Linked DNA regions of Homo sapiens: region 2 is linked to region 1. The links are contacts of gene promoters, found by promoter capture Hi-C in blood cells and fetal thymus (Javierre and others, 2016). All regions are on one chromosome and are shown on one strand. The core of a region is centred on a gene start or on the middle of the fragment in contact, and the rest is flanking DNA. Distances in the headings are between cores, read along the strand shown.

Region 1 (2,910 bases), core at 223-2,722:
AGGGAGCTTGGCCGGCGGGGTCACCTTCCCGTCCTCTGCCCCGGGCGGGGTCCAGCGGGCGCCCCGCGCTCACTGTAGCCTCGGCGGGCCTCTTAATTCCGGCGGCCCGGGTGTCCCCCCGCTCCGGAGCGGGCCCTTTATCCGGCCCCTGGGTCCCCGCCCGCGGGAGCCCTGGAAAGTTGGGCGCGGGAGGCGGGGCGCGAGCAGCAGCTCCCGGGTGGGTCCCGGCGGGCCGCGGGCGGGGTCGAGGCCGGGGCCAGGGTCGAGTCAGTGCTTCGGGCCGGCTGCGAGCCCTGTGCCTAGGACACCGACGACCCGGCAGCCCCGCAGCTGCTTTTCGTCTTCCCAAAGTTGCGTGCAAGCCACGGCAGCAATTAATAATTAAGCCCGTAATAAAGGCCCGGCCGGGACTGAGGCGCCCCCTTTTTCGGCACTGCCTCTCTTAATTAAAAGACACAGAGCAGGGCGCCCAGGAACTGGCTGTATCCTTTGCCCCGGCGCTGCCGCCTGTGGCGACCCGGCCGCCGCCGCCCCCAGCCCAGACGGCCAACTTACTCCGGAGCGGGCGGACCCCGCGAGCCCGCGGTCCTCTCTTCCCGCCTTCCCGCCGCCTCTGCTCCCCCCACCTGCGCGCCGCTCAGTTCCAGGTTCGACTCCACGCCGGCCCCAAACCAGTGCCTGCGCCCCCTCACCTCCCGACCCCCTCCCGGCGCCGGGAGAAGTTTCCAGCCGGACTGGCCGGGAGTTTCTCTGTGCAACTCACAGGCTCCCAGTTTGCAGAGAGATGGGAGGGCACGGGATGGGGGTGGCTCTAAGCGGTGGCGGTGGAATTGGGGTGGGGGAGAGGCGCGGGAGCAGGGTTAGTTTCCTTTTCCGAGACACATCCGAGCATCCTTGCAACATCCCTCCCCGACACACACACACACACACACACACACACACACACACACACACACACACTCTGTCTCTCTCTCACACACACACACACACACACTCTCACACACACGACGGAAAGGACCCGGGGGAAGCTGGCCAGAAAGACAAGCTACCCCTTTAAGATGCTGCTAAGAACGCACCCTCACACACCCCTCTGGGGCGACTCCAGTTCTCAGCTCGTAGCAGCCGCCACCAAACAACTTTTGCATCCGAGCCTTTGCCGGGCCGCTGTAAGTGGCTCCCGGGCCCGGGCAAGCCTGCATGGTCACCGAAGCCCTTTAAAAATGAAACCGGCCTGGCCAAGCTGCAGCCTCTCCCCCCGCCCGCCTCCCGGGCTCTCCCCGCCCGCCTTACCCCGGCTCGGAGCGGCTTCCCGGCGCGGAGACCTGGGAGGGCCGAGGACCGCCACCCTCCGGCGCTGCGCCTCCCCCCTCGGGCTGGCGCTGGGTGGGGGCGCGGGCCGAGGGCTGCGAGCCGCTGCTCCTTCCCCGCGCCGCTCCCGCCGCTGTGGCCGCCGCCGCCGCCGCCGTCAGATCGGGGCCAGGGAGCCCTCCGGCCGCCGGGGGGGCCGCCCGCAGCCGTCCCGGAGACGCGGGCCGGGGGAGGGGGCCGCCCGCGCCGCCCGCATCGCCCGCCCGGGCTGAGCGGGAGGTCGCCGCTAACAAGTGCAAACTTTTTGGCCCCCCTGGGCGGCCCGGGGAGGACCCGCGCTCGGGCGCCGGGCAGCCCCCGGCCCGGGTGGGCTTCGCGGCGTCTCGTCGGGGAGCCGGGGCATCCCCCCGGCGCGGCGCGGGCCAGATGGCGGGCGCTTCACTGCCCCCCTGCACTCCGCTCCAAGTTAATGCCGAGGCTAAATCCTCTTGCCATCACTCACGATCACCATCGGGGCTTTTATCTCTCGGTCTGATCCGGGCTGCGTAACTTCCTCTGTGTGGCTTTAACACACCATCCCACCACGGAGCAACGGTCTTCTTAAAGGTGCAGGAAGGAAATATTGCGCGGCTCGGGGGACGCGCCACGGCCCGGGGAGGGGCGCGGCGAGCAGGGGCGTCCCGGCGGGCCCGTGGCCAGGGTGGCCCCGGCAGCCTCTGGGGGGTCGCTGCCTAAACATCGCCTCCCGGCCCGGGGGCCAGCGGGTCCCTGCGCCCAGAGCGCATCCTCAGCCGGCTCCGGTCAGGCGCAGCCGGGCTGCAGCTTCCTCTTCCAAAACCCGGGGGCCTGCCGGGGTGCCAGCGCCCATGGGTGTGGGGGCTGCCCCATCGGCACGAGGGAGGGGGGCCAAGTGAGTCAGTTCCCCCACCCCCCACAGCCAAGGGCTCAGGGCTGCTCCTCGGTCTCTCTCTGTGAAGTGCTGCCACCCAGAAGGCCCCAAGCAGTGGGTACCGGGGTGGGTGGGTGGATTTGGGGAGATGGGGAGGGGGAGCGATCTGAGCGCACAACCAGAGCCTGAATACCAGCTGACACATCGCCGCCTCCACCCTGATGGGCCCTGCTTTTGACGAAGCCAAGCCAGCTCTGCAGGGAGTGCAGAGTAGTGGGGCAGGAGGGGCCTGGCTGAGGGGTTCTCTGTCTCCCTCCCCTGCAAGCATGGGAGGCAGGTGTGGGAGGGCTCCGGTAGCAGCAGCCCCGGGCAGAGGCCACCGAGTTCACAATATCATATCCGGCAGCCCTGGGCTCTCTGATCCCCAGGAGGTTTCCTGCCAGCCTGCCTCCCAGGGCTTCTGGGAGAGTTTCCACATCTTCCAGAAGCACATGTGGTTTTCGGACACTCCTGGCCTCCTGGGGTGGGCTCACTGCAGCCTTGAGCAGCCAGCACTGTCATTTGGATGCATCAAGAACAAAGGGCCTGAGGACAGACAGAGAGAGAGGCAGAGAGAGAGAGACCAGCCCAAGGTCACAGAGGGTGTTGGGAATGGAGCAAGACATGGCACCTCAGTGCCCCGCCCTGCTGCCACCCTTCACCTCCACCTTAAC
Region 2 (2,910 bases), core at 129-2,628, 180 kb after region 1:
GAAATGGTGAAGTGAGTGGTCTGTTTAAATAAACAGCCAAGGCCAAGTAATTGTCAGGAATAATATTTCAGAAGGTAAATACAGTCATGCATCATTAGGCTCTTCCATCATTGTGCAAACATATATTTACAAAAACCTAAATGGTAGAACCCACGGCACACCTAGGCTATAAGGTGTAGCCTGTTACTCCTAGGCTACAAACCTCTACAGCATGGTACCATAGTGAGTACTAAAGGCAGTGTAAGACAATGGTAAGTATTTATGTATCTAAACATACCTAAGCATAGTAAATGTATAGTAAAAATACTGTATGAAAGGTAAAAAAAAATGGAGCTGTGTGCAGTGGCTCATGCCTGTAATCCCAGTACTTGGGAGGCTGAGGTGGGAAGATTACCTGAGGCCAGGAATTCAAAACCAGCCTGGGCGACATAGCAAGACCCTGCCTCTATAACAAACAAACCAAAAAGAAAGATAAAAAATGGTACACCCGGACAGGAACTTCACCATGCATGGAGCTTGCAGGACTACAGGTTGCTCTGGGTGAGTCAGTGAGCCATGGTGAGTGAATGTGAAGGTGTAGGGCATTACTATACACTGCTGTAGACTTTACAGACACTGTACACTCAAGCTACACTAAATCTGTAAGAACATTTTTTCTTCCGTAATAAATTAGCCTTACTTTTTCACTTTATAAACTTTTACATTTTGTTAACTTTTTGATTCTTTTGTTATGACGTTTACCTTAAAACAAATACATTGTACAACTGTACAAAAGGATTTTCTTTATATTCTTATTCTGTAAAGCTTTTTTCTATTTTTTATTTTTGTTTTATTTTATTTATTTTTTTCTTACTTTTTAAACTTTTTTGCTAAAACCAAAGACACAAATGCACACATTAGCCTAGGCCTACACAGGGTCAGGATCATCTGTATCAGAGTCTTCCACCTTCACATTTTGTCCCAGTGGAAGGTCTTCAAAGGCAGTAACACACAGAGCTGTCATCTCCTATGATAACAATGCCTTCTTCTGGATCCCTCCTGAAGGACCTGCCTGAGGATGTTTTACAGTCAACTGTTTTTAATAAGTAGAAGTAGTATATGCTAAAAAAAAAAAACAATTAAAATTATAGTACAGTAAATTCATAAACCAGTAACAGTCATTTATTATCATTATCAAGCACTCTGTACTATACATAATTGTATAGGCTGTGCTTCTATGTGACAGGCAGTGCAGTAGGTTTGTTGACACCAGCTTAAACACAAACACATGAGTAATGTGTTGTGCTGTGACTTTACCATGGCTACTATGTGATAGGAATTTTCCAGCTTCATTATAATCTTATGGGACCACTGTCATATATGCGGTCTCACCAAAACACTGTTATGCGACACTTGACTGTGTTATAAAACATGGGAATGCAAAAATATTCACAAAGCACATAGAATGAGGAGATTGGGATGACAAATTTTCTCATCTTATTTGGGAGCAGGAGATATATCTAAACATTAAGAAATAGAGGTTTTAGTGTATTATGTAAAATTTGAAAGAAAATTCTTAAAAAGCACTAAAAAGAAAGGGGATGCCAGAGTCTTGAAGAAAACAGTAAAGACTTAGAGTCCGCAAAGCAAAAGGCAAAGAACCAAAGCAAGCATCCAGAGCAGGACACATGAAATAAGACATAAAAGAAGATAAAACAAAACAGTCTCATAAGACCACCAAATTAGGCCACACACCTGCAATATCAATAAATACCAATGAGATAAATATCTACTACAGGAAAAAGACTCAGATTGTCCCCAAAATTAAACCCTGCTATGTACAACATAAAACAGCTGTTAGACAAAGACAGATCCTGTATTTCTAACTAAAAGAAAACTGGACTTGTAATAGAAATACTAGATAAGGTTGAGCTCAAGGCATATGGTATAAATGGCTGCAAAGAGAAGCTTTATAAGGACAGAATGTAAGTCCACAGTGAGGCCATAACAGGTCAGTCCCAGGCTCAAAATACCAGCATAAATGTATAAATGTCAGGAAGCGCCAGGAGAAACAGGGACTGTGACTCACCTCAGGAGTTCACAGCAGACCAGCAAGATGGAAAATCAGAGAAGCATGTGGAAGATTTAAATACTTTCTCCTTATTGTAGTTTTTAGCTGAAATGACACCTCCTCAGAGGGACCTTCCCTGACTACCCAATCTAAAGTAGCTTCCCCAGTCACTTTGTATCATACACCTTTTTAAGATCTCTGTAGCGCTCTGTTCCGCTGTTCTCTTATGGGTGTATTATGTTGTGTTTTGTTTTGTTATTTGGCCCAAATCCCTGTGAAGGAGGGACCCTGTTTGTTCTGGTGACTGCTGTAACCCCAGTGCCTAGAACAGTGCCTGGCAAACAAGTCGATCTTGAGTTCATAGTCATCTGAGTGCCTGCTAAATGGCAGGCACTGTTCTAGGAGCCCTGAGCACTTGAGTGAACAGACTCCTGCCCTTGTGGTGCTTACATTCTAGTGGAGAATATGGAAGACAAACAATCAGAAGTCATGTACAGAATGTGAGGAGGTGATTAGTGCTATCGGGGAAAGTGGGGCGGATGTGAAGAGCCAGGAGAGCTGGGCCTGTGGGAGGTGGGCAGCGACTTTAAAAAGAACGGTCAGGGAAACTGCCTTGAAATGGTGACATCTGAGCAAATGTGGGGAGGGAGTTAGCTGTGTAGGTCTCTAGGGTAGGTGTCCCAGACAGAGCAACACAGAGGATGGGGAACAGTGACATAAGGGGGTAAAGACAAGTTGAGGCCGTGAACACCAAGGCTTGGACTTACTCTTGAGACGAGAGGTCAGAAAGTGGCTCTGATCAAATACAGCTGGATCAGTTGGAGCTGCATGAGGAATTTCACCTGATATGTGACCTGGAG

Evidence for each region. Contacts are between HindIII fragments. The CHiCAGO score rates a contact against its expected background, and 5 or more counts as called.
Region 2: a fragment that was not itself captured here is called in contact with the fragment with the promoter of NTNG2 in region 1 in 1 of 17 cell types (endothelial precursors); the score reaches 5.8 in endothelial precursors.

The regions. Positions count from the first base shown.
Region 1 is chr9:132,160,620-132,163,529 of GRCh38, reverse strand. It overlaps NTNG2 (netrin G2), which reads right to left and starts at 1,472. Exons shown (of 8, transcript NM_032536.4): 1 at 1,291-1,472. LOC124902291 (a long non-coding RNA gene) reads left to right here and starts at 1,830. Exons shown (of 2, transcript XR_007061826.1): 1 at 1,830-1,914. The HindIII fragment of the contact is 8,295 bases long and covers 1-2,910 here.
Region 2 is chr9:131,983,903-131,986,812 of GRCh38, reverse strand. The region is part of intron 3 of MED27 (mediator complex subunit 27); the gene reads left to right. Among named protein-coding and RNA genes, the nearest start is that of MED27, 95 kb to the left of the region's middle. The HindIII fragment of the contact is 1,143 bases long and covers 807-1,949 here.